Regions from separate parts of the Homo sapiens genome. Here region 1 is linked to region 2. The links are contacts of gene promoters, found by promoter capture Hi-C in human tissues and cell types (Jung and others, 2019). All regions are on one chromosome and are shown on one strand. The core of a region is centred on a gene start or on the middle of the fragment in contact, and the rest is flanking DNA. Distances in the headings are between cores, read along the strand shown.

Region 1 (3,577 bases), core at 382-2,881, 710 kb after region 2:
AGCCCCTGGACTTCTTTCATATATGGAAAAAAATTAAGTTAGGCACTCAAACAACTTTACAAAAAAATACCCACTGGAACTACTGAACAGGGAACTCTACTTACAGCCCTCCAAGGCATCTTCTATTCAGTTGCTCTATATCGTTATAGTTATTGTGAATACAATATTTTATGTTCTACCTTTTTACTTATTTCATACTAATTTGCTAATGAATCCAATGTGCTAATTAATGAACATTTGGATTATTTCTAGTTTTTTCCCCAGTAAGTCACTGGGCCTGTTCTGGACTAAATATTTGTGTCCCCTGCAAATCTATCTGTTGAAGTCTTAACCCCCAGTGTGATGGTATCTGGAGGTGGGGGTCTTTGGGAGGTGAGATTTAGACGAGGTCACGATGGTGGAGTCCCTACAATGCTATGAGGGCCCTGATAAGAAGAGGAAGAGACATCCCTCTCTCTCTGGCATGTGAAAGTACAGCAAGAAGGTGGCTGTCTGCAGGCCAAAAAGAGAGCCCTCACCAAAACCAGAATCTGCCAACACCTCCATCTTGGACTTCCCAGCCTCCAAAAGTGTAGGAAATAATGCCTGTTGTTTAAGCAACCCAGTCTGTGGTATTTTGATATATCAGCCTAAGCTGCTTAAAGACAAGGACCTAAAGTGATATAAACAACTGGCAAATATCTACTTGGCCCTCCACTACTTGGCTTCTGAGATTTTGCTAAGAGAACAGAAAGTAGGACCACACTGCCATCACAAAGGCCCACACTGCCATCACAGAGGACCACACTGCCATCACGAAGGCCCACTCTGCTATCACAAAGGACCACACTGCCATCACAGAGGACCACACTGCCATCACAAAGGCCCACGCTGCCATCACAAAGGCCCACGCTGCCATCACAAAGGACCACACTGCCGTCACAGAGGCCCACGCTGCCGTCACAGAGGCCCACGCTGCCATCACAGAGGCCCACGCTGCCATCACAAAGGCCCACTCTGCCGTCACAGAGGCCCACTCTGCCATCACAGAGGCCCACGCTGCCGTCACAGAGGCCCACGCTGCCGTCACAGAGGCCCACGCTGCCATCACAAAGGACCACGCTGCCATCACAGAGGCCCACTCTGCCATCACAGAGGCCCACGCTGCCGTCACAGAGGCCCACGCTGCCGTCACAGAGGCCCACACTGCCATCACAAAGGACCACACTGCCATCAAAAAGGACCACACTGCCATCAAAAAGGACCACACTGCCATCAAAAAGGACCACACTGCCATCACAAAGGCAGGAGAGATGATGGGGAAGTTCACCTGCTCCTGGGTCATTCTGGGAAGGCTGGGGTCTCTGTAGCTTCCAGAGCCCACACCTATGGTGAACAGGTTGGTGAGGGCAGAGGACACAGGTGGACCTGACAGCAGGGTGACTTCAGGGGAACCAGGGCCAAGTCACATGGTTAAGACAGACAGATGAAGGCTGTGCTACCCACTCAGACCACCACCTCCAGAGTGTCTGAAAAACCAACCCCTTTCCCAAGAAATTTCCCAAAGAAGAATGTTGGCTTCTTTGTTCCAACATTCTCTTTTGAAAAATTCCAAACCTACAGAAAAGTTGAAATAATAATACAATGAATACCATACACCCTTCACCTAGATTCACCAATGGTTAACATTTTGCCATCTTTGCATTCTCTCTCTATACACACACACACTGTGTGTGTGTGTGCATGTAACTATTTGAATCATGACATGTCATCCCAAAATGTTTCAGCCTGCATCTTCCTAAGGATAAGGACATTGTTTACACAGCCATCTGCCGGTATCGTACACAAAAAATTCAGCGTTGATTCAATAAGCTTACCTAACACAGCCATTCATTTAAAAAATGTCTCAATTATCTCCAGTATGTCCTTTATAGCTCCCTTCTCTGATGGAGAATCCAATCAAGGATCAAGATTGTATTTATTTGTCATATTGCTTTAATCTCCTAAATCCCAATTAAATCTAGAAGAGTCTCTGTGTGCTTCATGACACCGGCCCACTGCCTTGCAGGAAGTCCCTACTCTTTTTTTTTTTTTTTTTTTTTTTTTTTTTTTGAGATGGAGTCTCGTTCTGTTGCCCAGGCTGAAGTGCAGTGGCACGATCTTGGCTCAACTGCAACCTCAGCCTCCTGGGTTCAAGTGATTCTCCTGCCTCAGTTTCCTGAGTAGATGGGATGACGTGCACGCCACCATGCCTGGCTAATTTCTGTATTTTTAGTAGAGACGGGGTTTCGCCATGTTGGCCAGGTTGGTCTCGAACTCCTGACCTCAGGTGATCCTCCTGCCTCGGCCTCCCAAAGTGCTGGGATTACAGGTGTGAGCCATCGCGCCCGGGCTCTAGTCTGTCTATGAGCAGAGCTAGGCCCCAAGTACCGAGATACTTGAGTCCTGGCACAGACAAGAAATTTAACTCTAGTGCTATTCAAATGACCCTTGACGCTTTGCCAATTACCAATGTTTGGGAATCCGACCATCCAGCCTTGCTCCAATCCACAAGTCCATTAGGTAAGAGGCCTGGCAATCCTAAAACCCCAACCTACACAGGAGCACCAAGAAAGCCCTGAGTCCTGGCCTGAAAAGAGGCCGGCTCCTGTTCTTGACTTCGTTGGCTCATGATTCTTTGCGTGAACAGGCCTTGCCTATAATGCTTCCTCACAGCCCACCCTGTGCTAATCCTTAGGAGAGAAAAGAGGTTCTAGCAGTATCATTCCGCTTCTCCTCAGCCTCCCTGCCCTGGCCTGTGCTGCCCTGGGGAAGCAAGAGCTGCACTGATCTCATCCCCATTTCTTTGGTCCATTTCCAGGGTCTCGGCCTATAGTAGCCCCTCCCCACTACTTTGTCCTTGGCCAAAGAGGGCACCGTGCACTAGGGGACGCTCCTGAGCGATCCCCAATAGCAGCTGAAGGCTGCTTCCCGGGGCGAGAGATCCTTCTCAATAATCAGCTTTGTAGTCAGAGGCAGCAGCTGCCCCAGCCCGCCCAGGCCTCCCTGGGAAGGGAGAGGACTGGATTAGAAAGGAGGCAGTTAATGGAAAATGAAGAGGGAGGGGAGAGGTGAGTTACACGCTGCTCCCCAGGGCAGTGACTTCCGAGCTAACAGCAGGTGGAGTTGCCCTCCTCCCTCGCTGTTGGTGGGGTTCGCTTAGGGACGGAGGGAGAAGGAGGCTGGCAGAGGGCATAGCCCCACTTCCCAACCCTGATTTGAGTTATCTTCCCCAGGGGGCCTTTCTCCCTATCTGTCCTCCAAGCCCCAGCAGTGTGATCATCAGAAGAAAGCACTGGAAGCTCTTGGAAACGCTGGAGTCCACTTCAGGACAATTTGTTTTCCTTTCTTTTTTTTCTTGTCACTGACTCGAAGCTCATCAAGACAATTTCTAAGCAGCTTCTTAGGTTAATGCCACCACTGGGAGTGGGTGGGATGACACAATATCTGTGTCCCCACAGCACCTGGCTTAATGTTTGCAGGCAGGAGTTTTGGGGGAGCTTTGGCCAGCTCAGGAAGGCCTGGGGACTTGAACCCAAAGGGGAAGGGCACTGACTTC
Region 2 (3,711 bases), core at 728-3,227:
ACGGGGTTTTGCCGTGTTGGCCAAGCTGGTCATGAACTCCTGACCTCAGGTGATCCACCCATCTCGGAAATCTATTTATTAAAGTGCTCAGAGAGCAGAAAGAGCATGAGTGCAAAAAATTTTTTTAACTTTTTTTTTTCTCTTGCAAGCTATGACTGGGGAAAAAAGAAAGAAAAAAAAAATGTCAGCAATGCACAGTGGCTCACGCCTATAATCCATGCATGTTGGGAGGCCGAGGCGGGCAGATCACTTGACCCCAGGAGTTTGAAACCAGCCTGGGCAACATGGCGAGACCCCATCTCTACAAGAAATACAAAAATTAGCTGGGTGTGGTGGTGCGTCCCTGTAGTCCCAGCTCCTCAGGAAGCTGAGATGATCACCTGAGCCTGGGAGGTGGAGGCTACATTGAGCCATGATTGAGCCACTGCATTCCAGCCCAAGTGACAGAGCAACACCCTGTCTCAAAAAAAAAATTTTTTTTTTTAGGTGGAGTCTTGCTCTGTTGCCCAGGCTGGAGTGCAGTGGCGTGATCTTGGCTCACTGCAACCTCCACCTCCTGGGTTCAAGCAATTCTCCTGCCTCAGCCTTCCAAGTAGCTGGGATTACAGGCATGCACCACTACACGCGGCTAATTTTTGTATTTTTAGTAGAGATGGGGTTTCATCATGTTGGCCAGGCTGGTCTTGAACTCCTGACCTCAAGTGTTCCACATGCCTTGGCCTCCCAAAGTGCTGAGATTACAGGTGTGAGCCAGTTCACCTGTCAAAAGAAAGAAAATTTTTAAAAAGTCTCTCGGAGATGTCTTTCCTGTTTGGTGCCACCTGAATAGTGGCAAACCTTTCCATTATGTATCAGGTCACCACCGCATCTGCTAGAAGCCCCCCTCGTCCAGGGTGGGATGACCTGCTCCTATAAAGCCAAACTTACCGGGAGCTCAGTCTCTTGGATTTTTAAAATATGGGTGTCTCTTTTCCCCGGTTCCTGATGACATTGTGTCCCAAGGTGCCAAGGGGGCCTTTCCCTCAGTCCAGAGGGGTTTTCTGACCACCTGCTAAGTTCCAGACACGGGCCGACTGTGCATGACAGGCCCACGGTTCTAGGCCCAAATACTCAGTTGCCTTTGCCCCATATGCTGTTATTGTCCACATCACTTGCTGCCAAAACCCAGGACTGAGCTGTGGAGGGAACAGCTGGAATGCACCTTGGAGGACGTTGTTGACACGCCGCTCAGTCGCCGTTCGTGCCCTGGTGTTTGTCTTGCAGACAGAGGCTCCGTGGTGAAGGCGCGCGTGCTGACCTGTGTGGAGGGGATGAACCTGCCCTTGTTGGAACAAGCCATCCGGGAGCAGAGACTGTACAAGCAGGAGCGGGGCGGCAGCCAGTAGGAAACAGCAGCCTAGCAACACCCTCACCTGCTTCAGAGCCCGAACCCTCTGGAGCTGCAGGAGCCCGGGAGAGCACAGACGCCTCCCCAGCGACGGCCTTGTCTGGAGCTCGAAAGCCGAGGGGCGGGTGATGAATCCAGCCCCTTCCCCTACTTTGGGATTGGCTCAGCAATGAGAACCCAGAAAGCATGCCATAAATCCGACAGCCCCACCCCAGGAGACTGCAGGTGGCCGAGCTTGGGCGCCGGGGCCGTGCTTGGTGTGGGGCCATGGAGGGTTCCAGAAGGTCCTGGTGAATAAAGGCCCAGGGGGCGTGCTCTTGAAGTGTGCTCGTGGTGCAGCGCCGGCGGGGGCCAGGAGGGGGAGCTGCAACCCAGGCTGTGGGCTGCAGCCTCTCAGGGCTTCTGGTGAATTCTGGGCCTGGGGCCTCAGGGTAGGGCACCAGGGGCCCAGGGGCTGGGGTGGGGGGCCCAGGATGCAGGGGTCTGCCCCTGGCCAGGCTCTGCCTTCAGAGGAGGCTGAGCGTCGTCACACGGGCCGGGCTGAGGCCCTGGGCCCTGACCGTGCAGCCTAAGACAGGACTGTGGCTTTAAGACCCTCCTGACCCCTGACCTCTGCCCCCAGTGGCCCTGGCCCCTGGGCAGCCCTTCCTGGCCGCCATGTGTACCCAGAGCCTGGGACTGGCTGGGCTGGGCAGTGACCCAGGTGGGAAAGGGTGGTCTTGCCCTCTAAGGCCCGGCACAAGTGAGAGGCCTGGGGGTCCATGTTGGGCTGGGCTGGGCGAGGGGTGGTCTCTGACTTCCTGGGGGTTCTGGCTGGGATGGGCAGGGGGCTGGGTGGGAGAGTGTGGGCCCTGCCCTCCGAGGCCGGGCATGGGCGAGAAGCCTGGGGGTCCTGGCTGAACTGGGCTGGGTGAAGGGGGCCCCCTGACCCCCTTGGGGTCCGGGCTGGGCTGGGTGAGGGGCGGTTTCCGACCCCCAGCCAGGTTCCCAGGCAGGATGAGCTGGGGTTGGGGTGGCTAGGCCGTGGGCCTTGGGAGCTGGGCAGTCTGGGCTGGGCTGGGCTGGGCAGGGCGCCACATGGAAGCTGGAGGAGCAACGGGAGCGCTGGGCGTGGGGTGCAAATTGCCCGGTGCCTTCTGTTTCCCAGGCAGCTCTGTGGCCATGGATATGTTCCAGAAGGTAGAGAAGATCGGAGAGGGCACCTATGGGGTGGTGTACAAGGCCAAGAACAGGGAGACAGGGCAGCTGGTGGCCCTGAAGAAGATCAGACTGGATTTGTGAGTGCTGGGACGGCCCCTGAGTTACCCACCCTGGGCCATCACAACCTGGGCGCTCCCTGATCCGTTCCCTCTTTCCTGGAGTCCACGTTTAACTCCTCTGGGTGCTGCCCAGCAGCCCTTACCTGTCCTCTCCCCAGTTCACTGCCTTCTGACCAGCCTTTGCCGGGGCCCTGACTGTGGAGTTTGGTGGATGACGTGCCAAGGAGCACAGGTCTCCATTGCCGGGGCCCTGGTCATTCTGTGGGGTTAAGGAGAAGCCGATCCCCCTGGCTGGAAGTGCCCTTCTTGGCCCAAGTCTCTGCCCACGGCTGTGCCCTTGTTTCTTGCAGGGAGATGGAGGGGGTCCCAAGCACTGCCATCAGGGAGATCTCGCTGCTCAAGGAACTGAAGCACCCCAACATCGTCCGGTGAGTTGGGGATTGAGGTGGGGAAGCTGGGATGGCGAAGGTAGCATCCTGACTGCCATCTCCCTGTCAGACTGCTGGACGTGGTGCACAACGAGAGGAAGCTCTATCTGGTGTTTGAGTTCCTCAGCCAGGACCTGAAGAAGTACATGGACTCCACCCCAGGCTCAGAGCTCCCCCTGCACCTCATCAAGGTAGGGAAGGAAGGGCAGGGAAGGAGAGGTGACACCCCATCCCTGCCATCCCTGTCCACGCAGCACCTCCGCTCAGCTGGCTGCACCTCGCGCTCGTTTCTCCAGAGCTACCTCTTCCAGCTGCTGCAGGGGGTGAGTTTCTGCCACTCACATCGGGTCATCCACCGAGACCTGAAGCCCCAGAACCTGCTCATCAATGAGTTGGGTGCCATCAAGCTGGCTGACTTCGGCCTGGCTCGCGCCTTCGGGGTGCCCCTGCGCACCTACACCCATGAGGTATTGTGAGACAAAGAGGAGAGAGGGGCAGCAGGAGGAGTGTCACCCATGCACTCAGCCACCCTGAGTGATACTGTTTCTTTGCCCTGCAGGTGGTGACACTGTGGTATCGCGCCCCCGAGATTCTCTTGGGCAGCAAGTTCTATACCACAGCTGTGGATATCTGGAGC

Evidence for each region. The method cuts DNA at HindIII sites, captures the fragments that hold promoters and counts their contacts. A contact is called where the count stands out against the background at its distance.
Region 1: a contact is called between a fragment that was not itself captured here and the fragment with the promoter of CDK3 in region 2, in 1 of the 25 tissues and cell types used here (stomach).

What each region holds. Positions count from the first base shown.
Region 1 is chr17:76,705,232-76,708,808 of GRCh38, forward strand. The region is part of intron 1 of MXRA7 (matrix remodeling associated 7); the gene reads right to left. Among named protein-coding and RNA genes, the nearest start is that of MXRA7, 3.9 kb to the right of the region's middle. The HindIII fragment of the contact is 4,690 bases long and covers 1-3,577 here.
Region 2 is chr17:75,998,878-76,002,588 of GRCh38, forward strand. It overlaps CDK3 (cyclin dependent kinase 3), which reads left to right and starts at 1,978. Exons shown (of 8, transcript NM_001258.4): 1 at 1,978-2,090; 2 at 2,535-2,664; 3 at 2,997-3,074; 4 at 3,145-3,265; 5 at 3,371-3,541; 6 at 3,634-3,711. The coding sequence starts at 2,549. It overlaps TEN1 (TEN1 subunit of CST complex), which reads left to right. Exons shown (of 4, transcript NM_001113324.3): 4 at 1,264-1,709. The coding sequence ends at 1,385. It overlaps TEN1-CDK3 (TEN1-CDK3 readthrough (NMD candidate)), which reads left to right. Exons shown (of 10, transcript NR_037709.1): 4 at 1,264-2,664; 5 at 2,997-3,074; 6 at 3,145-3,265; 7 at 3,371-3,541; 8 at 3,634-3,711. LOC124904061 (a long non-coding RNA gene) reads right to left here and starts at 1,683. Exons shown (of 2, transcript XR_007065911.1): 1 at 928-1,683; 2 at 1-759. RefSeq lists an enhancer at 1,605-1,654 and a silencer at 1,785-1,864. The HindIII fragment of the contact is 30,775 bases long and covers 1-3,711 here.